Regions from separate parts of the Homo sapiens genome. Here all the other regions are linked to region 2. Evidence: promoter capture Hi-C in human tissues and cell types (Jung and others, 2019). All regions are on one chromosome and are shown on one strand. The core of a region is centred on a gene start or on the middle of the fragment in contact, and the rest is flanking DNA. Distances in the headings are between cores, read along the strand shown.

The links. Contacts are between HindIII fragments. The study calls those that stand out against the background at their distance.
Region 1: a contact is called between a fragment that was not itself captured here and the fragment with the promoter of MBOAT4 in region 2, in 1 of the 25 tissues and cell types used here (hippocampus).
Region 3: a contact is called between a fragment that was not itself captured here and the fragment with the promoter of MBOAT4 in region 2, in 1 of the 25 tissues and cell types used here (aorta).
Region 4: a contact is called between a fragment that was not itself captured here and the fragment with the promoter of MBOAT4 in region 2, in 1 of the 25 tissues and cell types used here (heart right ventricle).

What each region holds. Positions count from the first base shown.
Region 1 is chr8:29,647,744-29,653,965 of GRCh38, reverse strand. No RefSeq gene overlaps it. Among named protein-coding and RNA genes, the nearest start is that of LINC02948, 89 kb to the right of the region's middle. The HindIII fragment of the contact is 7,238 bases long and covers 1-4,941 here.
Region 2 is chr8:30,143,211-30,149,402 of GRCh38, reverse strand. MBOAT4 (membrane bound ghrelin O-acyltransferase MBOAT4) reads left to right here and starts at 4,738. Exons shown (of 3, transcript NM_001100916.2): 1 at 4,738-4,920. The coding sequence starts at 4,802. The HindIII fragment of the contact is 8,892 bases long and covers 796-6,192 here.
Region 3 is chr8:30,550,479-30,556,427 of GRCh38, reverse strand. All of the region lies in intron 6 of RBPMS (RNA binding protein, mRNA processing factor), which reads right to left. Among named protein-coding and RNA genes, the nearest start is that of SMIM18, 85 kb to the left of the region's middle. RefSeq lists a silencer at 1-17 and an enhancer at 5,442-5,736. The HindIII fragment of the contact is 4,833 bases long and covers 1,373-5,949 here.
Region 4 is chr8:29,807,535-29,813,662 of GRCh38, reverse strand. No RefSeq gene overlaps it. Among named protein-coding and RNA genes, the nearest start is that of LINC02099, 62 kb to the right of the region's middle. The HindIII fragment of the contact is 3,779 bases long and covers 1,586-5,364 here.

The sequences.
Region 1 (6,222 bases), core at 73-2,572, 490 kb after region 2:
CAGAGAAGCCAAACCCTAAGGAAATGCTCAGGCCAGGCTGTATGTGCCTTTAGCAGAATTCTGAAGTGTGAGATCTTGATGGAAGCTCTGACAAAACGAGGGGCAAAACAGGGCTGGGTGGGAAAACACCCAGTGCTCTGAAGGTTAGTCCAGAGTGAGAAGCAAAACCTGAATCCCCAAGGCAGGACTCCAGGCACTAGGAACTGAGCTGTGCAAGTCAGAGAAGGCTGGTCAGCCAGACTAACTCCCTGTTAAGCCAGGTAAGCTACAGACATAGGGCTTCTTGAATCCCCCTTAGCAAGGCAGGGCTGAGTGTGGGAGTGGATGTGGAAGGTGGTGAGCTGGCAGATCAGGGCACTCCGTATTCCTCCTACCCACTTTCTTCCCCACCAGTTGGTTTCCTTGCGTTGCTTTGAAACAAGATGCTGTCTTGTGCCTGCCTCCGTCAAAGACTGAAACCTTTGTTTAATGTTAGAAAATACCATGTTTAAAGGAGTCTCTGTTAGAGCAGCTGTACTATAGAATCAAGGAATGAATTTTGGGTAGGAAGACAGAGAACCACATTCTTGCCCAAGAATTTTTGACCTGGTATTCGTGAAATGACCTTCAGTGTGTTTACAAGTCTCCCAAACAAATCTGCAAAATTGTGTGGGTTTGCTTTAAATTCATGGAGAGAAGAATTCATTTAACTATGAATTGCCGTCATGCAGAACTATGCCCTCGAAAGTATTCATGCTTCTCATTTATAGATGAGAACTTGGCACACAGAGATGGCAGGACTTGGAGCTCCTCATCAGTAAGGCTTTTGTTTTACATCAATGTATCTCCAACATATATTAGTCAATCAAGGAACATATGTAGAGTGAATGGATGATGAGTAAATGGATGGATGATGGATGAATGAATGAATGAAGGCTTCCTGCTGTCAGTCCACTCATACTCTCACTGCATCCCCACCATGCCCCATTGACTGCTCCAACTCCAGCTTCATGTTGGGATGGTGAATGCCAAGCAGGGCAACTTCGGGATCCGGGGTAGATGCAGTGGTGCAGAAGAGCTGGGGCCTCAGGGTACAGAGGCCTCCACTGCACGAAAGCCCCACCTGGTACATTCTTCCCTTGGGGACCATCACCCTGTCCCCACTGTTCCACCACCTCTTCTCAGGAAAAGAGTGAGCTGGGGTGACCTGCGCTAGTGAAACCGGCCCTTGGTCCTGATATCCAAAGCTCACCTGTCCTGCCTCCGGCTCTGGAAATGTTTTGTCTTGTGTATTTTTCAAGACAGTGAAAGAAGACACAGTTTCATGTTCGAGGTGAGCATTTATCTTCTAGAACACCTGAAACATGGCTGTTTGATTGCCGAGTTAGACAAACATTTTGCATCTGGCATTTGGACCTCCATATCTCCACTTTCTACCTTGCAGAGCGGTGAGGGTGGGTAACAGTGACCAGCAGTGACAAGCTGCTTTGATGTGATCATTGGCTGATTAACCAATGAAGTCTTCCTCCTTTCCTCCTTCCTTCCTCTTTCTTCTCTTCCTCCCTCTTTCTTTTCCTTTTTTCGTTTCTTTCCTCCATTTCTTCCTTCCTTTCCTCTCACTCTTTCTTCCTAACTATGGGCCACTGGACCAGGTGCTAGAGATACCATAGAGTAAGATACAACCTCTGTAAGAGATTGTATCTCTGGGCCACGGGCAGGGTATAGAGGATTGTATCTCTGGACCACGGCAGGGTATAGAGGTCCCCCCAGGAGGGAGTCATCTATGCAAGCCAGAAGGTCAGGAAAGATCTCACAGGCCAAGATAAAGTGACAATTGAGATGAGGCTTAGAAGACTTTGCCAGGCAAACTCATGACTAAGGGCAGCTTGGGCAAAGAGGAGAAGCATAGCCTTTGGGAAGCATAAGTAACTTAGGGTGACAGGCATGGGCCCAGTGTATGTCTGCTATTAAAAAAAAGGTGGGGGGAGGTGTCAAGAAAACACATCAAGAGTTGATGCTAGACATTGAAATTATCCATATTATTAATCATCACAATATTCGGTACTTATGACCCATGTGGGTAATAATCTGAACTAACTAAGTAAACCACTAACTGGGAGTCTAGAAAAACTTCTAGTTTCATGCTTGAGAGGCAGGGTGAATGGTTTTCATTGAAGACAAGGTGTTTCTATTTCCAAAGACCTTCTGATATAGCCCATTGCTCCATGAAACCCCTCTCACTGTCAGTGCAGTCATCTTCACGGGGAAAATAGAAGGGGTTTAAGTTAATGGTTGTTAAGCTTTTAGAACAGAGCCTATTACAGAGTGTCATGGATGTGTCTATTAAGTAAATAAGAATGAAATTTGTTGAATACCATGTGCCATGTATGATCTTAGGTATTTATTTCATTTCCAACAACCCTGAAAGTTAGATCCAAATTCTTATTTTATATTTACAGAAACTGAAGTTCTCAGAGATTCAGTAACTTGCCTGAAGTTACTAATAAGTGGTCAAGCTGCAGTTTAAACCTAAACCCATCGAAGTGCATGTTGCTTCCAGCTGGGACACCCAGCCCACTTAGGGATGGCTGGAATCCTAAGTCCTTCTGTGTCATATCTGAGTGTCGACGGAAGTAGCAGATGCCCATCCTCATGGTGAGAACCTTTTCAGACACGGGGTTGGTGACCTGTCCCCAAAGGTCAGTGCAGTGGTCCTGTGTGGGGTGCAGTGTAGGGTAGGGCTCAGCAGGCAAGGTCTTCAAGCCTGCACAGCCAGCCCCAAGCTCTGGATCTCTGATTATTATGGAATTGGATGGGAACATGATTCTAACATAACCCAAGTGCCGAAAGAGAGCAAATACTCAAATGGGAAAGCACTGATGAATGAAGGTGGAGCTTACCCAAGTTCAAATAGCTTAACATTTGCAGGATTCTCATAGGATCTTTACCCTATGGCTTTTTCCCCCCAGAAATTTCAAGAAAGGACCATTATTAGTGATGGGAGGAAGGCACCTTGATACTACTTTCTAACATCCTTAAAGAAAAACCCCTGGATGTTCTGATATATTTAAGAAGAAATAAGAGATAGGAAGATAAATCAGAAGTCCAAAACCCTAGAGTTCTAAGGCCTGCTCTTTCATTAACTAACTATATGACTGGTGGCAACTCATGCTCCATGCCTCAGTTTACCCATATTTAAAATAAAAGATTTGGGCTGGATCATTTTTGGTAAATGCTCAAACTTTAAAATATTATAAGCCAATAATGGAACAAAACTAAGTTTCTTCTGATAAATGTGTTTCTTTCTCCTGGGCTCCTTCTTCTGTCCTGTAAAAACTGCCCTGACCACCTCCTTTCAAAAGAGTATTTCCTGTGCTGTGGTGAAACCTCTGTCTTCTTTTCCAAGGCCACATGCTTCTGCCCACACTAACTTCCCAAGCACTTTCAGGCATCAGTTCATTTTCCTCATATCACCTACCACAACTTGTCATTATATATTTATAGATTTGTTTGTTTTATAGAGACTGTTTCTCCTATGAGATTGCAAGTTCCATGAGAACAGCTACTATGCCTGCTTTGTTTACCAACGCATATTCACTGTCCAGCATTGTGTGTGGAACATAAAAGGCTCTTGGTTAATGCCTGCTGAATAAATGAATCTGTCATCTTCCCTTTTTTGATCATTATCATAGGTATCATTTGTTAAGGGCTTACTAGGGATCAGACATTGAGCTGATGCTTTGCATGTATTACCTCATGAACACATCACAACAACCTCACCTGGCAGGTTGCATCTGTTTTGCAGATGAAGTCACTGAGGATCCAAGAGGTCATGGAGCAAATGCACTCTAGAACCTGGATCCAAACCACAGCTGACTCACTCAGAGTCTAAGTACTGAGCCCTTGCAAAGTACTACCTTGGGTCCTCAGTGACTCTGAGCATTAGGTCGGACATGTAGTAGGTTCTCAGGATATGTGTACTGAATTGAGTCTCTGTGTGATGGAGCTAACAGATGGTAAATGGAGGTCAGTATTTATGACCCATGGGGCTGATAATCTGAAGCTTCAATGCCTGAGGTGGATTCTGAAATCTGGAGCAAGGATTGGTAGAGTAGAAAATCTCTTTCTAACAATGAGATTCATTCTTGTGTGCGTGGAGAGTTTAACAGAGCTCCTTTCTTCCACCGTATGAGGGTGTGACTTCAAATTTTTCTTGAAATGCACATTTTTAATTAGAAGATTTTATGTGGGTTGCCAAGCTTCTGAGAACTAAAAGGACACTTGTGCCTCGGGGACACTTACAGAGACTGGTCCCTCGGTAAGTGCATAATAAAAAATACACAGAGAGCAACTGAAATTAAACCCACAGGGAACCCATTGCACTTGGTTTCAAATACCTAAAGACTTGACAGCTACAGAATAAAGAGAAAGAACAGAAACAAAAGTCAATGCCAATTTGCTTAATTTGGGGTTCTTTTTCCTGAGAGTATCTTTCTGAGAATCTAGAGTTGGCAGAAATGTTGGAGACTGTCAGGTCTAAGACCCCCTCCTGCAGATGGGAGACTGAGGCCCGAAGAAGTTGTGGCAAGGTCAAAGCAAGGTCAAACCAAGTGAGCTATGGGTCAGAAAGAAGAGAAGGCATCACTGTGTGCTACAGCAGGGCCCTAGGAGAAATTTGCTGGTGGTGAGGAAGATGGGGATTGGTGGGGATTGCAAGAGTAGGGGGTGGGGCGGACAGCTCTCTAGCAATATGGCTTCTGCTCTGTTCAAAGCGAAATTAGAAATTGTTCAAACAGAAAATGAGTATGTCAAGAAAATCACATGTCAAGGAATATAGAGTCACTTATTAGTGTTTGTCTCCAGAACATAATCTAACGGACTGTAGGAGAAATCCCAGATTCTCTTGGGCTCCTTTGCTGCCTCAAGCTCTCTTATACTTGAATCCCCCACCCTTAGACACATTGCTGTCCCTTAAACTTGAGAGTAGCGCCAATAAATCTCCAAATAGCCTGGACTGAACTGGAATCAGAATAATATTAATGCACTTAAGGAAAGAATGGGTCATTGAAAAGGTGAGGGGTAGTATCTTAGAATATATAATTCAAAGGGGAGAATAGCCTGGTACATTCAGCACTGCCCAGGTGAAAGGAATACAGTATGTGAAGGACGCTAGTAGCTCTAATCACCAGAGGTATAGGGTAGGATGTAGAAGTATTTCACAGGGAATTTTAATAAAATGTTTCTCCAAGCTGGATCTGATTCCATGGTTGCAAGTAATCTTCATAAACTTCAATGACCAGGCCAGGTGTGGTGGCTCACACTGGTAATCCTAGTATTTTGGAAGGCCAAAGTGGGAGGATCACTTGAGGTAAGGAGTTGAAGACCAGCCTCGGCAACATAGAGAGAGCTCATCTCTACAAAAATTTTTTTTTAATTAGCCAGGTGTGATGGTACGTGCCCATAGTCCTAGCTACTAAAGAGACTGAGGCAGGAGGACCCCCTCAAGCCCAGAAGTGAGCTACAGTGAGTTATGATCGTGCCACTGCACTCCAGCCTGGGTGACAGAGCGAGACCTTGTCACTAAAACATTTAAAAAACAAAACACAACAAAACTTCAACAATTGATGACCTGGTGTGTGTTATTTTTAAAATCTTGATTTTAAAGCTTGATTCTAGGAATGGGGTATGAGCATGTACACAGGACTGCTGAGAGCTGGTTTGAGCACAGTGAAGAAATGAGACTTGGAGCCCCATCAAAGGCAGACAGCTAGAAATCTTCACAGGGGATTTATGCTCAAGTCCAAGTCTCCTTTCCACCCTGGCAGCTCCAGCAGCCTGTCCTTAGCTTCCACTTCCTGTGTAGTTCATCAGCTCTGGATGGACATGAGTGGTCCTGTCACTGGGGAAAGAGATCATTCTTGCTATAAATACATGGATGGTGTGGCTTCAGTGTCCACCTCTGTGAAGTGAGTTGTTGAAACGATATCTTAGGAAGTCTATGAACCTGTGATATGGTTTGGCTGTGCCCCCACCCAAACCCCATCTTGAATTCCCACGTGTGGTGGGAGGGACTCAGTGGGAGGTAATTGAATCATGGGGGCAAGTCTTTCCTGTGCCGTTTTCATGACAGCGAATAAGTCTCACAAGATCTGATGGTTTTAAAAAGAAGAATTCCCCTGCACAAGCTCCCTCTCGTTGCCTGCTGCCATCCATGTAAGATGTGACTTGCTCTTCCTTGCATCC
Region 2 (6,192 bases), core at 3,489-5,988:
TCTCTACACACTGGCCATCCGCGTGGCCAATTCAACCCACTCAATTTAACATAGTTGGAGTTGGTAAAGCCCCTGAAGTATATCAAAGTAGTTATATTTTGCATTGAGAAGGGCCCGATGGACAACCTGGGACTATTCAACCAATTATAACTTCTGTACCTATAAGTGTATGGGGAATAGATTTGTTACAGCAATGGGGAGCACAAGTTCTAATTCCTGAACAATTATATAGCCCTCAAAGTCAACATATAATGCATGAAATGGGGTATGTCCCTGGTATGGGACTAGGAAAAAGTTTGCAAGGTTTAAAGGAACCGCTTCAAGTGGAAAGACAAAGTTCCCACCAAGGTTTAGGATATCATTTTTGATGGTGGCCATTGTTAAGCCTCCAGAATCTGTACATTTAAAATGGTTAACAGAGTAGCCAATTTGGATAAAACAATGGCCGCTAAGTAGAGAAACTTGAGGCTTTAGAGGAATTCGTTACTGAACAATTAGAAAACGGGCGCATAGCTCCAATATTTTCCAGTTTTCGTAATTAAGAAAAAATCAGGTAAATGGAGAATGTTAACTGACTTAAGAGCCATTAATTCAGTTATACAACCTTAAAATAATAACTTGGGGTAGACGTTATGCTTGTGTTTCTCCAGGACCAAATCAACAGCCGATTTGGATACCATCAAGACACCTGAAAACTTATCATGAACTAGATGCTGAGGAAGAGATTCTGGGAGGATCCTGAGGACCCCCCAATTACAGCCACGTTGAGAGTGATGCTGAGGAGGACCCCAATTGTCACGAGCAACACCCATCAAACACAGCCACCCACCTGAGGACAGATCAAGAAGCTGTCACAGATGGCAGAAGAAAACTTGAGAAAAGCGGGACAACCAGTCACAATGAGTAATTTAATGGTAGCTATGATGTGGTGATCACCATTGCCGTAAGTATTCCTTCAACAAGGGCTGACACAAAGAACAATTATACTTATTGGGCATATTTATCAATCTTGGCTGGCAATAATGCCTGGATGTAATCAGTCTATGACACAGTTACACATGCTTTCTGACCTCAGTATTTACCATAATAAATCTGCTCCTATAACTGAGGCATACCACCCTCAAAAACCTATTTGTAAACAGAATTGGACCTGGCCAGAATTAATGGACGTACTTGTTTGGGAAGATTGCATTGCAGAACAGGCAGAGGTGCTGTGCAACGATTCCTATGGAATCATTATTAATTCGTCCCCAAGGGGATGTTTAGCTTGAATTGCACCTCTCAGTCTGCATGCCATGGCCACACTATATTCAGCTGGTCTGAACAAAACAGTCAGATGGTAGAAACGGTAAGAAGTATGGCAAGAGTTCCTATTATCTGGAACCATGGTGGTATAGTGGCACCTCAACCTCAAATGATACGTCCCACTGTAGGAGCTAAACATAAGGATTTGTGGAAACAATTAATAGCTCTTAATAAGATCAAAATTTGGGAAAGAATAAAAAAGCATCTAGAAGGACACTGTACAAACTTGTCTTTGGATATCACAAAATTAAAAGAACAAATATTTAAAGCATCCCAGGCACACCTGACATTAATGCCAGGAACTGGAGTGCTTGAAGGAGCTGCAGACAGATTAGCAGCTAGTAACCCATTAAAATGGATAAAAACACTTGGATGCTCTGTGATTTCAATGATGATTGTGCTTTTAATCTGTGTTGTTTGTCTTTGTGTAGTCTGCAGATGCATATCCTGACTCCTGTGAGAAGTAGCTCACTGTGACAAAGCTGCCTTTGCTTGTATTGTTTTGTAAATCAAAGAAGGGGGACATGTTGGGAATAGGCCCCCAAAATCTGGCCATAAACTGGCCATAAACAAAATATCTGTAGCACTATGACATGTTCGTGATGGCCATGATGCCCACACTGGAAGGTTGTGGTTTTACTGGAATGAGGGCAAAGAACACCTGGCCCACCCAGGGCGGAAAACTGCTTAAAGGCATTCTTAAACCACAAACAATAGCATGAGCGATCTGTGCCTTTAGGACATGCTCCTGCTGCAGATAACGAGCCAGAGCCCATCCTTTTATTTCGGCCCATCCCTTTATTTCCCATAAGGAATACTTTTAGTTAATCTAAAATCTATAGAAACAATGCTTATCACTGGCTTGCTGTCAATAAAGACGTGGGTAAATCTCTGTTTGAGGCTCTCAGGTCTCAGCTCTGAAGGCTGTGAGACCCCTGATTTCCCACTCTATACGCTTTATTTCTGTGTGTGTGTCTTTAATTCCTCTAGTGCTGCTGGGTTAGGGTCTCCATGACCAAACTACTCTCGGCATTCCCATTAACTGTTTTATTGTTGCCTAAGACTTTGTGCCTTCTGTGGCCTAGAATAAGCCACCCATCTGCTTGCAAACATCCTTTCACAGAGAGCCAACTTAAGCAGTTCCACTCTTCCAAAATCCTTTTTGATTCCCTATTTCTGCAGGTGATTGTTTCTTTCTTTATCCCCTACCATACACCTGTGCACCTACAGTTCATTAAGAAAGGTATTTATTTCCATTTCTGTCTCTCCAGTAGACTGAGAGCAACATGAGTGCAGGGACCATGTCTTACTCATCCCCATATTCCTAGTGCTTAGCAAAGAGTCTGTCATAAAGTGGTAGCCCAATAATGCTCATAATGTTAATTATTCAATCACTTTACCTTCAGCTACATTCAACCAGCCAGCTTTATATGCCATGCTTTTACATGCTTTATCTGATTTTCATAACAGTTCTGTTGAGATAGGCCTAATTATGTCTAGTTTTAAGGTGAAGCTTAGTCCCAGAGAGGTGATGTGACTTGCTCAAAGTTCCCCAATCAATAAGATTCTTTTGGATTTTCTTCTCTGTGCAGAGCAGTCTCTGATATGTTTGGGTCTATGTCCCCACCCAAATCTCATCCCCAGTTATAATCCCCATGTATTGAGGAAGGGAAGTGACTGGATTATGGGAACGGTTTCCCCATGCTGTTCTCGTGATCATTCTCACATGATAGTTCTCATGAGATCTGGTGGTTTTATAAATGGTGTTTTCTTCCTGCGCTCTTACTTCTCTTTCCTGTCACCTTGTAAAGAAGGTACTTGCTTCTCCTTTGCCTTCCACCATGACTGTAAGTTTCCAGAGGCCTCTCCAGCCATGCAGAACTGTGAGTCAATTAAACCTCTGTCCTTTATAAATTACCGGTCTCGGGTAGTTCTTTATAGCAGTGTGAAAACGGACGAATACAGTCTCTCACTAAAAGATGGTCCTTGCCCTGAAGATGCTCATGTCAGATTTTCCTGTCCTTTATTGACAACTTGCTCATGCAAGTGACTTTGGAGAGGGAAAACAACTGATCAGGGACAGCCCTGGAATGCCCTGGGCTCAGGAGATGGATCGCTACTAGCCAAGAGATGTCTTGCCTCTAGGAAGTCTCTTCTGTATTACTTGTCAAGAAAAGATTCTCTTGAAATGTTTCCCCTCTACACTTTGATATCCTCAAAACCTTTTTTTTTTTTTTCCAAGACGGAGTTTCACTCTTGTTGCCCAGGCTGGAGTGCAGCGGCATAATCTCAGCGCACTGCAACCTCTGCCCCCTGGGTTCAAGTGATTGTCCTGCCTCAGCCTCCTGAGTAGCTGGGATTACAGGTGTCCACCACCATGCCCAGCTAAATTTTTGCATTTTTCATAGAGACAGGGTTTCACATGTTGGCCAGGCTAGTCTTGAACTGCTGACCTCAGATGATCCACCCACCTCGCCTTCCCAAAGTGCTAGGATTACAGGCATGAGCCACCACAGCCAGCCTCCTCAAAATCTTTTAAACAAATATTTACTGGGTATATAGTATGTATTCAGCAGTGTTCTATGTGCTACGGATACAGTAATCAACAAAACAAAGTCTTTCCCTTGTAGAGCTCATGTTGTAAAGGGGGCAGGAAAATGAATTGAGAAATAGATACATAAGAGGTACTGATACGAAAAAAAGTAGCATAAGGAGGAGAGTTGTGGTGAGGAAGGGGAATCTTGGTTTTTGCCTTAAGAACCTGCCTCCAGCTGGGTGCAGTTCCTTATGCCTATAATCTCAGCACTTTGGGAGGCTGAGGCAGGAGGATCGCTTGACACCAGGAGTTTGAGATCAGCCTGGCCAACATGGCAAAACCCCATCTCTATAAAAAAAATATAAAAATTAGCTGGGCATGGTGGCACATGCCTATAGCCCCAGCTTCTCAGGAGGCTGAGGTGGGAGGATCACTTGAGCTGGGGAGATAGAGGTTGCAGTGAGCCAAGGTTGTGCCACTGCACTCCAGCCTGGGTGACAGAGCCAGACCCTATCTCAAAAAAAGAAAAAGAAAAGAACCTGCTTCCCTTCCTCCTGGTCACATTCTTGTTTCCCCTTTTCAGTCCACAGAGTTGTCTGTCCACAGTTGGGAAATGAGATTTTTCATTAACTTAGTGAAGAAAATACGACAGCATGATGACTGGAAAGGTAAATAGTATACTATGTCAATGAAACAAAACCACGCTTCCAAAAGCAATGTTTTTAGTGCATGTCATGATTAATGTTACACCAAAATGTGTTTTGGTTTCCATAGTGCAGTTCCTCAATCAGAAAGCCAGTTTTTATTCTGCTTATCTCCAGAGCTTTTGTTTGCCTTTTGCTCACCCTAGCCCCGCTAAACCAGATAAAAAGACCAGAGACAGCCTGGTTGAGATTACTCTTGGAGGAAGGCATCAGTTAAGGACACTGGAAAAGACAGGCTCTTTTGTTCTGGTTCCTAATGGAGTGGCTTTGGCTGTTCTTTCTCCATCCTATATCGTTTTACCAGGGGGCTGCATTTCCCTTTGCACTTCTCTTCAATTATCTCTGCATCATGGATTCATTCTCCACTCGTGCCAGGTAGGCTGGATGGCTATTTTTACTCTTACATCCAGAAATACTATAGTGACTGGGTGCGGTGGCTCACGCCCGTAATCCCTGCAATTTGGGAGGCTGAGGCGGGCAGATCACTTGAGGCCAGGGGTTTGAGAACTGCCTGGCCAACATAGCGAAACCCTGTCTCTAATGCAAATACAAAAAAAATTAGCTGGGCATGGTGGCTCATGCCTGTAGTTCCAGCTCCTCGGGAGGGAGGCAGGAGACCTGCTTAAGCCCAGGAGGTGGAGGTTGCAGTGAGCCGAGATGGCGCCATTGCACTCCAGCCTGGGCAACGGAGCAAGCCTCTATCTAAAAAAAAAAAAAATTCAGAAATACTATAGTAGGGCAAAAAGCAGAGTAGACTGCAGATGTGAAGATTACAATATATTAATTACACTTGTTTTTAACTTACTCTCACTGTCACTGATTATTGATATTTGATAATGAATATATATAACAGAGTAAAACTAAACTGGAAATTCACATCCTTCCTGCACTGATGTAAGGTTTGCTGGGTTCAGGTTAAATGGCAGATGAGTGAAAATAAACTCTCAGGAGAGATGGTTGTTGCGATGGTACAGGAATTCTCCAAATGGATACATCTCTGTCAACCATGGATCTCAGATATTCTTGAATAGTCCTAATTTTATGGAATTTTATCATTTTCAATCAAATTAAATTTTATATAAAGTTACATCAGTATAAGTTTTATTATAACTAAATGTGATTTTTAAAGTGCCTTTATATGAATTCTCAGAGAAATGAAATAAGTCAAAATGAATCTTGTTAGATTAGCTATATGATAATTTGAAGTTCAAAAATTATCACTAGAGATGTGATGACTTGATTGTAATGATTTTTTAAATATCAAATAACCTCAACACATTAGAGACAGCACCTATTTTTTTAGATTGCTCATATAAGATTTTATGTTTTTAACATAGTCAAAAGGCAAGAACTTAACTGAACATAGAACAGAAATGGTGAGTGTACTGTTAACATGGCTACATGATTTTCTGTTAAATTGAAAAGTCGCAAATACATTTTTTATTTTATTTATTTTTATATATATATATATATATATATATATATATATATTTTTTTTTTTTTTTTTTTTGAGACGGAGTCTCGCTCTGTCGCCCAGGCTGGAGTGCAGTGGCACGATCTCGGCTCACTGCAACCTCCACCTCCTGGATTCAAGGGATTCTCCTGCCTCAGCCTCCCCAGTACCTGGGACTATAGGTGCACACCACC
Region 3 (5,949 bases), core at 2,540-5,039, 410 kb before region 2:
GCCCCAGCCTCTCTGACCAGCTCTCGCACACAGCCCTCACGTTCTCACTCGCACAGGTGCCTGCAGGGTTGGGGACGAGCGTGCAGCCCGTCTTCAGGCTCTCGTCAGCCTGGTCGAGGCGCACTCCAGAGTGACATGAAGGCGGGTTCCGAGCTGTGGGGTCCAGGGGAGGCTGTGCTCAGCTGAGGAGTGAGGACGCCAGTGATGCAATAGGTGGCTGCTCCTCAGAGTGGATGTGGTGGCGGGTGGCGGACACACAGACCCCTGAATTCATTGCTCTTGTGTCTCAGGCTAGGACACTATGTGCTTGCCAAGTGGGGGGCTCTTCTCACCGCATCCACAGACACCCACGGCTGCCTCCTCTTCCAGCCTGAGAGGCTCCGCTGCGCCCAGCTTCCAGCAGAGGGCAGTGCCCCCCTGGCCAAGTCTGAGCGGCTCATCCAGGTTCCCGCACCACAGCCGGCAGAGCGGCAGGGCTCATGGTGCACAGCAGAGTTCGGGCAGCCGGCCCGGTGGGGGGGAACAAGCTGCTCCGCGCTAATCACTGTGTGGGGGTAATGAGGAGAGGGTTCTCTCTTAGCCCCATTCGGGCTGCTTGTTCTGCTGGGCTTTTGGCCCCAGGTCACTCCTGCCCATCCCATAAGGGCTGCTTTACAATTCTTCTTAACGGGGAAACCTACAGTTCCCTCCAGACTGCCTGCGTCAAGGTCCTCTCCAAACAGTTCAGCAGGCTAGTTTAGGGCTCCCCATTAGAATAATGTGACAAGGGCTGGCCTTCCATGCAAGGCAGCGGCCCCTCACATTTCTTCATGCCATGTGCAGAAAACGTATGTGTACACAAACACACACCCTCTCTCTCTTCTCCCATAGTTCTCTCTCTCAAATGTGCACACTCACAGTCTTGCACACAATTCCAGGGGCTTCTCAAGACCCTGTGAGAAACTTTAACACAATATACTTAACCAAACTGACCCTGACATTTAGTCTGCGTCAGAGACCGCGCTAAGCACTTCACACAGCCTGTGACATCTAAGGCAACGTGGACGACCCTGGGAATCTTCTCCACTAGAACTTAACAATAGTGGTAAGTTATTACCATGTTACAGTTCACTACCCAGGGCCACACTGTTTGGGATTCTACCATCCCTCTTCTTCAGGAATGCTCTGAAAATGCAGTGCCCCTGCATGGCTAACACTGTAAGTCTCCAGCACTCAGCATGGTGACAGATTGGACAACAGGAGAGCACCAAGATACCCAGAAAAAGAAGCAACTCAGAGTAAAAATCAAATGGAATGCTAGAGAAAGCGGTACCCACCCATAAAAATAATTTCCATCCTCTTCCATTTATAGATGAAAAATGAAGGCCCAGAGGATTAAATACAGACAGAATTTATGTTCCTAATACTGATGCCAAGGACAGGAAGACCTTGACTAGTCTCGGGAGGACGCCCTGCCTGAAGTACCAACCCTTCTGCAGTGGTGAGTGACTGGCACAGGGTAAAACTCTACAGTAATGATTTGCATTGCGCTATCCCCTTTCTAGGGGCTGAATCCCACTATCATACTTGCCCTTAGAAAGAGTCACGAAAAGTGCTTAGCAGGTGACTGGCTCAATTAATAGTCACTACTGAAAGCAAATACTCTCTGGTTGGACTGTTTTCTTCTCTGGGGAATGAAGGGGTAAGCCTAGACCAGTGGTTCTCAGGTTCCTGGACCAACGGCATCACCTGGGAACTTGTCAGAAATGCCAAAACTCTGGGAGAGGCATCCAATAAACGACACTGTAACCAGCCCCCCAGGTGATCACCAGGCACATGGTCAAGTCTGAGAGATGCTGCTTTTAATTAAGGTTTCGAAAAGTATGGCTGGAAGAACACTGGTCTAGAAATGCTCTAATGTCAAGGACATTAGAGAGAAATGCACAATTTGGTCCCTTCAGCAGTTTCTTGATATGTGTGGGCACAGTAATGGCTCCAAGAAGTTCCAAAATAAAGAAACCTGTTTGACTTGATCTAGACCTGTGCTGCCCAAGTTTATCTGACTGCAGGATCTCTGGATTATGGAACAGCTGTGAATCCCTGTGGGTGTTGAGAAATGCTGGTCTGGAAGGTCCCTTCCAGTGGTAGCATTTGGTGGATCTAAGAGGCTGGGCTGTGCCATTTGCATGCTTCGAGCTGGAAGACAGACCACCAAACCGGCTAGTGCTCTGATGTCTCATGTACATGGAGCAGCTACAGATTTTCTCTCACCTTCCCTAGTGCAGATGCTGTACCTGAATGCAGGTTTCCCCTGCACCACATTCAGAAGTCAGCTATCCCTCTTTGAACAAAATAGTTAATAACAGTAGCTTGGGCAGGGCGCCGTGGCTCATGCCTGTAATCCCAGCACTTCGGGAGGCTGAGGCGGGTGGATCATGAGGTCAAGAGATAGAGACCATCCTGGCTATTATGGTGAAACCCCATCTCTACTAAAAATACAAAAAATTAGCTGGGTGTGGTGGTGTGCGCCTGTAGTCCCAGCTACTCAGGAGGCTGAGGCAGGAGGATTGCGTGAACCTGGGAGGTGGAGGTTGCAGTGAGCTGAGATGGCGCCACTGCATGCCAGCCTGGTGACAGAGGGAGACTTCCTCAACAAAAGACAAAACAAAACAAAACCCACAGTAGCTTGAACAAGTTGTTTTATGTAAATGACAAGAATGTTATCTCAAACTAATGGGTTAATGTTTTGAAGGCATGGATATTCTCAGGCAGGTTTCCATGACTCTCCCTAGAATGGAGCGCTGAAGTTCGCTGTGGGGCTCGTTCCCAACACTGAGCAACTGCAGGGAACCACTCACACAGTGACTACCTACCATCAGCTCTGCCCTACTCGCTCCAGACCTCAGGATCCACTTTTGGGTGGCATCACCAAATAAAGCACGTTAGGCCATTACAGCAAGCTCTGTCAGAGACTGCCAGGCTGAAGAGAGGCTGCCAAGCCCAGCATAATCTGGTCCAAGAAACTCCAAACTCATCGAATAGGCTGGAGGGATGATGTGCAATACAAAAAGATTGTCTTCCTTACAGCGCTGATTGCAAGATTCTTTTAAACAGCAACCCTCACCTCCATTTCTAAAAAAGCACTCACCAAAACTGGAAGAACACTTTTTGGGAATTTCGCTGCTGCATGAAATGAGGCCCTCTTGTAAAGGAACCACTCCTCTTCTCCCTGCCCCCCAGAATCGGCAGCCTATACTCTTTCTCAGCAGACTCAGGCATGAAAACGCCATCAGCATTCTTCACTACCTGTCTGGCACCTAATAGTCCTTGCCTAGGGCAATTAAGTCGCTATGATCTAGGCAGAATGTCAAGATTTGTATGACTTGGTCCTTGGTTAAGGCTGCCATCTCACCTGCCCCAACAGCTGGAAAAGAGGTGAGCAAGAAAGTCCTAGCTGGAGGAGGCCATGCTCCCCGCTGGCCTTGTGCTCTTGCCGGATCTTCCAGTCACGATGGCAGGTGCTACTGAGGTCCGAGCCCAGGCAGGGACAAGGTCTAGACCACAAGGACAAGGTCCTAGGACTGTGAGTACATCCTGGTAAGCCTGATCAAAGCTGGGTTTAATGAAACAAAAGCCTCCAGGGAGAATTTTCTCTCCTGGGCTCTTAGACTCTTTTCCTGTCTGTCCTAAGCACAAGCTAAGCCCTGCTTCCAAACAGGCATGTGAAATGTGCCCAGACATCTCAGAAGTTCACTTGAGATGCCACTTGGGTTAAAAGCACCCAAGCATGTAACACCCTGTGTCAGATTAAGTCCACAGTGGTTGCTTGTCATCCATATTTAATTCTGTCAGTCTGTTAATTTTTAACTATGTTTGCTATCAAGGGCCATTAGAGGTCCCCAGGAGCTGAGCTCAGTGAAGCGCATAGAACTTCGTGGCAGAACGCACAAAGCTTGAAGTTGGGGTGTCCCACTTTCCCATCCTGTCGCTGGGTCTGGCCTTCCCCACCGGCAGCACAAATCCTGAATAAAACATGATTCCATTTGGAGTTGATTTTCCTTTACCCCTACTGTCACAATTGGTTTTCTTCACAGAAAAGTTCACTCTCCCCTTTTATGAAGGCTACATTTTATAATTCCAAAGTTTCTCTGTGGCCTTGGTTTTGTTTCCAAAGCAGTTAGAGTTCACATACTTTCCGGACGGCATCTGGGTGCCTATGCCTACAGAAGAAAAAAACCTTGGGTACACACCCAGCTGACCCAACCAGACGGCCTCCTCTCGGTATACGCCACAGCCACGGACCATTCTCACCCTGGCTCTGGTGTTTCTCTTCTTTACCAAAGCAAAAAGCCCAGGCCCTTAGGTTTCTCTTATCAGGGTGCTGGTCAGGAGTCCCTGTGTCCTAAGTGCTTCTCAAGCTTACAGGGAGGGCTCAGGAGCCTCTGGGCCACACCAGATCGAATCCTGACAAAGGGAAGGCATTGGAAGAACTATTTTAATCATAACTATGACTTTAAGCCAAACATCTTACTGTTTTCTGCAAAATAAACCCATGGAGATGTTCATTCTTCCCATTTATAGATGAGGAAACTGAGGCTCCGTGCAGTTAAAAACCAACTTGCCTAGGATCCCAAATTTAGCAGAGTGGGTAGAAACTGTCATTAAAATCAGGTTTGTTTGATTTAAAAAACTGAGTCCCAGTTAGGTGCCAGGCGCTCAGCAGCACCCGACTGTGACAGTTGGGCCACGCGGTTGTTAATCCCAGGGAAGAGCCGAGCGCAGACGGCACTTCCAGGTGCGACTTGTTGGGACTCAGGGTTGGGCTCTTACTACTATTAAGGACAGGGGAGAAGGCGCGTAGGATCTGGGGAGTTTAACCTTCCGCAAAGGACAACATGGAACACACTTAGAAACCTGGAAAACAGTGTACCAAATGGAGAGTAATGGAGTAATGGAGAGTAATGGTGCCCCCAGTCAGGAGGAGGCCCACGTTGAGATGTTCTGGCAATCCTGAATAATACTGTGATTTCTACGGAAGTCTCCTTGGGGTGAGTGACCCTGGCCAAAGCCACACAGCCATACACTAGGGGACCGACTCTGGTTTCTGAACGGCATTTCCTCCTAAAACTGCCCAACATGGAGAGGCCTGGGCCTCAGTAGCAGCAGCAGTTCTGGACAAAAGAACACGTCTCCCTAACACCCTGGACGGATGGTTTTGGAGGACTGCTTCTAAAGAGGGTGAAGGACAAAATGCTGATGTCTCTCTCACTGCAAATGACGGAAGAGGTGGAGAGGGTCACCAGGGAGAGAGCATCTGCCTGGCCGGGGGCAGATTCTCGGGTTTCCTGGCAGAACTGTGAAGAGAGCAATATCCCCAAGTACAAGCTGTAACTCCATTGCCTGGAAATGAGGCTGAGGAGAATACTAGCAGAAGGACTGTGGGAAGAAAGTGCCAGAAAGTCCAGGGAGGAATGGGCTGGGTGACCTGTGATTCTTTCTCCAGTTTCTCCGATAGGAAAGTGAGATAAGGCTGCAGCTGGAAAGGTCAGGGACAGCGGGTTTGTGTAAAGTAACTCGTGAGGGCAAGGGCCATTCCGTCGCTGGGATTCAGCTGCCCAGCCCCCTCCACCCCGGATGTATTTCCTGTCAGAAGGGGGTTCCGGTGGCCGTGTCCAGCCTGGTTTGGGGAGGCCCCTCTTTTGGATAAGCTCTCCCAGTGCTGGCGTAAGCTGTGAAGATCACACTGCCAGGAGCAGGGCAGGTGCTGTCAATCGGTGCTGTGGGTGGTGCTCTCACTGCAATGCCTCATCTTACTCCCGTCATTCATTCATGCTTTCCAGTCTTCCATTTGGCTCCAGCCGTGAGGTCTCTAGCAGCCCCTGTTAGTGTCATCCACATGTGCTGGCCATCCTGTGTCTTAACTGTCACGGCCTTGTGGGTAGCTTAGGCTTAGTCCTGGGCTTCCTTCTC
Region 4 (6,128 bases), core at 2,226-4,725, 330 kb after region 2:
CTTGATGGGCCCACTGGCCCAGGATATGAGGCCTGAGAGATTCCTATAGGAGGAGAGGATGAATATTTTGACAAGCAGGTAACTTTAGAAAGATGTAGGTAGCAGATCTTAGGGATTGGTGTTCTAGAACAGGGGTCCCCAGCCTTTTTGGCACTAGGGACCCATTTCGTGGAAGACAATTTTTCCATGGATGGGAGCAGGGATGGTTTCGGGATGAAACTGTTCCACCTCGGGTCATAAGGCATTAGTTAGATTCTCACAAGGAGTGCTCAACCTAGATCCCTCGCAGGCACAGTTCACAATAGGGTTCATGCTCCTGTGAGAATCTATAGCTGATGCTGATCTGACAGGAGGCGGAGCTCAGGTGGTAATGCTCACTTGCCCGCTACTCACCTCCTGCTCTGTGACCTGGTTCCTAGCAGACCACGGACCAGCATGGTTCCATGGCCCAGAGGATGGGGACCCCTGTTCTAGAGCAAAACTCCAATTGGAAAGTAAGGCAAAGAGACCAAGACAGGAATGTAGCAATAACTCTGGAGTACAAGGTAGGGCAGAAATTAAAGTACACATTCAAGCAAGGATTACTTTCTTATTCCATGCATTACCAAGTCATTTGGATCCTTAACGTCCTATATGGATGTGATAGGTCCCAGGGCCTGGGTTAAGCTTGAGGCAGGACCAGCTGCTTAATTTGTGGGCTGTAGTGCAAAATGAAATTGCAGGCACCTTATTCAAAAGCTAGACAAAAGTGCTGTTAAAGGTTCCAAAATATTAAACTCTTTCTTTTCTTTCTGGTTTCTTTCCCTATTATGCTTTAAAAATTTTTGCTATTTGATATTGCACTCCCTCAGGCATGGGGATATTTGCAAGGGTCAGTATGGACTCTCACAAGTGCCTGGGGACCCCTATTTGTGACTTTGCAGTGTTACCCACTAGCTTCCAGGACAGGACATTCTCTGTCAGCCCCCAGATTGATGTTCTCTGCCCAGCCAGGTTATGGGAGTCAGCCCTAACTCACAGAGGACTGGAGACTCTCAAGGGATCGCAATCTCAACACTGAGAAGTGGTTGGGACCTGGGTTGGGTAGGCAGAGGCTCACACCTGCCTGGATGTGTACTGAACAGCCATGGTACTGCCAGCCGGAGATGAGGACAGCTGCCAGCCAGGGATGGGGACAGCGACCACCATGCCCTGCCCTGAGACACCCCTGAACCTTCCAGCATCCTTGTCTGTGCACAGGTTCTCACTGGAGGCAGAGAGTGATGAGAGAATGACAGCTTGCACCCCGCCCCATCCCCAGCCTAAGTGAGCTCACTGATGCCCCAGGCAGTGGGCAGGATCCCTTGTGGGGTGGGGTGGGGGAGGTGGGGCAAGGGCAGGGCACCAGGACCGGGAGGCAGTGAAGAACCCTTCCCAGGGAACAGGGAGATTGTGGTGGTGGGGCCTGAGTGTGAAACAAGGCTCCCACATCCTAGTGCATTCTTCACTTTCCCGTCAGAAATAGGAATTCCAAGATAAAATTAAGAATTTCAGGATGGTGATCTTAGGAGCTTCCCTTGCCAAGCCGGGAGTTCTGGACACCTGCACTGATTTGTGACCTCAGCCAGCCTTGATTTGAGGTGCAGCCTCAGTGGCTCTGGCATAGATATCGGAAAACCACTGAGCTGGAACACCAGGCAGGTCACAGGGGTTTGAATTTGTAATTCAACATTTCTATTGATACGTGCCTTTTATAAATGCTCCGTGGCCTTTTAATAACTTGGTGTGTTATCTTGCCCAGAGTTTTCGTTCACTATTAATACTGATTCTGTCACTGTTGAGATATCTGACTCTGGACAGACTCTGCTCCTTGGCTTCCTCTTCTCTTTTAGTTCTTATTCTTTGTGATTCTGCAAACTTAGTTTTAAAGCCTCATATTGGATATTAAGACAAACGACATCATACAACGTAGTTCACCCTATCCATTGATCTGTCTGGCTTCTGTGTTTAAACAAAAGGGACTGGCAGTCTTGCCAAATCCCTCACTCACCCTATGTTGTATTTTAGATCATGTTTCAAGAAAGGGAGGCCCCTGTGTCCAGTTATTGATTAGCTGGGGAGGAAAAAAATGGCTTTGCCTCATTTCTTGTTAGGTAGCAATCCACGTATCTTTCCAGTAAGCAGCATGACACTTCAGGGGGCTCTGGAAGACATTTGACACTCTGGCGTCAGAGAGCCAAGGCCTGGGAGGTGTGTCCAGCAGTGTGTGTATCCAGGAAGCAGCAGAGGAACACAGCATCTGACAGTTCTGTCACTCCTGGCTGTGTGACTGCAGGCTAGTCACTTTCTGTCTCTGGGCTTCAGTTTTTCCATCTTAAAATAAAGAGATTGGACTAGGTCATCTCCAGGGTTTCATCTGGCTCCAAAATCTAAGATTTTATGACTGTGAATCAACAACTTCCATCTTCTCAGGGGCCTCCAGTCAAGTCATTCTGGGGATCACAGTCTTTCATAATCTCTGAAGCTTCATTTCTCAAAACAGCTCAGAGCGGGCCTGTCATGGTGGCTCACGCCTATAATCCCAGCACTTTGGAAGGGTGAGGTGGGTGGATCACCTGAGGTCAGGAGTTCGAGACCAGCCTGGCCACCGTGGTGAAACCCCATCTCTACTACAAATACAAAAAATTATCTGGGTGTGGTGGCGGGCGCCTGTAATCCCAGCTACTTTGGAGGCTGAGGCAGGAGAATCACTTGAACCCTGGGAGGCAGAGGTTGCAGTGAACTGAGATGGCGCCGTTGCACTCCAGCCTGGAAAACAAGAGCAAAACTCTGTCTCAAAACAAACAACAAAACAGCTTACAGCACAGTTCCCAGCCTGTTAGAAAGAGGAGAGGCATTGAGGTACATGTCAGGCTCCATCGTAAATGCATGTGAATGGGAAATGGACCCAGTGACTCAGAGCTCGCCAAAGACCCCAGCCCATAAGCAGTCTTCCGACAAGACTGGCATTGCTATTCTTGCCCCTTCAGGCAAGGGTGTTCTGCAGCTCATTGCTGAGTTCATTACTGGAACAATACAAAGAAGCCAACAGTTAATTATACACTGAAGAAGCTCCTTCACATCAGCCTCTACTCAGCTCTCTTTTTCATGCCCTCTGAAAAGACGTAATCATCCATTATAGTCATCACCAGCTTTGTTACTTTGTGTGCCTCTAATTGGCACTTTTCTTTTAGACAGTGAGGTATAGTGGAAAATATGCTCATCGAAGAGACAGCAGCCTGGGGTTGTGATTCTGGGCCTATTAATACTCCATTGTGTAACCCTGAGTGAGTTCCCTTCACCTTTTTGGGTCTTGGCCGTCCAATCAAAAGGAGGGGGTTGGAGCAGATCTAGCTAAGCTTTGCTTCTGCCAGACATTCTGTTACTGTCTCCCCAGATGTGCTCAGTAGCATGCCAGTTATCATGGGAGACATGGAAAAGTAAACATGTGCTCTAGTTCTGGCCCTCAGAAAGTGCTCAGCACTGGGGACCAGGTGGAAACAGAGAAGTGTATCATTGTGCAACTCTTCAAGGGCTACAGGAGTTTCCAGCAGGAAAATTTAATTTGCTAGCTGGAACAAGAGGGAAGAGGCCATCCTGGCTCCACTGGAGAGTCTCATGTTGGGAACAGGGGTGGTAATGCTGAAAGGAAGGGAGAAGTCAGACTAACAATAAAGGCAAACAAGTTTGGACTTCATCAGCAATAAGGCACCAGTGTCAACATTTGACTAGTGGAGTTACAGCATGAGATAGACTCCTTAGAAAATGTGTCAGTTAGGAATGCATTTGGCTGCACCAACCACTGTGGTCTAAACACACCTGGGTAGATTTTTTTCTTGTCTATAACAAGACATCAGTAGGTGGCAGGTACTGGTGTTGGCTTAGCAGTCGGGGTTACTGTGACATTAGAATGCAGACATACTGGTGCCAGGGTTATTTCTGCAATTTCCTTAGCCTTTTACTCATGGTTGCAAGACAGCTGCTATGGTGCCTGCTCACATCTCTACGTAAGCCAAAAAGAGAAAAGATAGAAAAAAAAAAAAAAGAGTGACTGCGGGGGGGTTTTGCAGCAGTTAAGTCATTCCTTTTAAATCACAAAAAACTTTCAAAGAAGCCCCCAATCCCAGACCCCCTAAAACAAAACTAAATTTCTGACTTTGTCTTAAGGGCCATAGCTTGGCTACATGGCTATCTTTGATGCAAAGAGGATTTCCAGCCTCTTACAGAAGTCATTCCCAAGCCTGCTTTCCCTCACAGCCTCCTATTACACATCATGCATTGATTGAAAAAAAATTTTTTTTTGTGCTAGTTAACTGTGAGCATCTTAAGAAACTTCCCACCTTTGTGTCTGGAGCATTAGATGCAATGCTGGGTTCACAGTGATCCTTCATTCACGACTGTGGGTGTGAATGCAGTGAAGACAGCTCGGATGGGGAACTCCCTGCCTCTATTACTTCTCTTAAATAACCAAACGTCTGAAGTGTTGGCCAGAATGTGTGTTAATATTCTGGCCCTATTCCAGCATATTTCATAGCAGCCATTAAAGAATATATTCTTAGGTTTGCACTTATAAAACTTTATTGGCTTAATCCATTTATTATCATACATTTGCAGTTGAAGTCTTGAAGTGTAGCTTAGCTACATAGCTGCACCTACCCATTGGTACAAGCCACAGCATGCAAGTTGGTGAGCTTCTGGCAACAGTTTTTGTTTGTTTGTTTGTTTGTTTGTTGAGATGGAGTCTCGCTCTATCGCCCAGGCTGATACAATCAAGGCGAAACTGTAACTTTCGCCTCCTGGGTTCAAATGATTCTTATGCCTCAGCCTCCAGAGTAGCTGGGACTATAGGCATGCACCAATAAGCTCAGCTAATTTTTGTATTTTCGTAGAGGTGGAGTTTCACCATGCTGGCGAGGCTGGTCTCAAACTCCTGACCTCGGGTGATCTGCCCACCTCAGCCTCCTAAAATGCTGGCATTACAGACATGAGCCACCGTGCCTGGTGACTGGTGACAGATTTAATTACTTTACCAGCTCTGAACAACCTCTATCCATGGTAGATAACTGTAGTGGTTTTTGCTCTTTCCTGAATGACTATTAAAAAAAAATTTCTTAGTTTGATCAAATAATTTGCCTTGCTTCATCCATAATTCTGCTTCATCTCAATTGAGCTTATTTTATTAAAGGGCAGGAAGTCCTCTGAATTTCTATTTCTGGACAGGTTTCTGTGGGAGTCTTTTTAATGTTTTTCCTGCTGCCTTTTCTCCTTTATCTTTACAAGTTCCGGTTCTATAAAACCGGTCATTTTTACTGACCATTACTGCAGGCTGAATTTTTCCCTATAAACCCTAATTTTGTAATCTGGGAGCAATATACATTGCTAATGTGATTTTTGTTCCCTTCTCTCCTTCTGAGTCTGGAAGAGTAGCCTTTCTTTTGTAGATTTATGGTGAGGTCTTGTACTCAGCGCTCTCACAATGCAGATGAGTTTTCTGACTATAATGGACCATTTTACAGCCTTATGGTTTGCCTATTTCTCAATGAATTTAATATTTTCTTCAATTTGTGAGCTAAATGTTAACTCCTGGGTTTTTTTTATTGATCCAGTACTATTATAAAATGCATGTTTCTTTATGTCTAGAGCCTATGACTGCAATTACTGCGTGTGAAGATTATGTACAGATTCTAATATGCATATTAATCTCACTATGCTATGGAACTGGTCCTTGCAGAGTTGTGCCTCATGAAGGGACACTGTAACCTCAAATGCTTTCTAAATGGATGGCCCCAAAACAGCAATGTCTCCCCTACACATACCCTCCCCTACTGGTGGCTGTCTTTATGGTAGAAGGGGAAGACAGCAAACATCCTACAGTTGTAGATTTTGGAAGTGGAGCATGAAAAAAATAAAACTGACCCTTGTGAGATTCATTTGTTTACAGAACAGGATTTTGTGGTCCAAACCATGCCTCTGGATGCCCTGGGGGCGGCAGTAAATGGAAGCCTCTGGCTGGAGGGAGAAGCGTAGCTGCCCAGCTACTCACATATTCATATATTCTCTCTCGCTTGAGGCTGAATATATTTCTACCTAGCAAGGAAGCCGTGCTGACA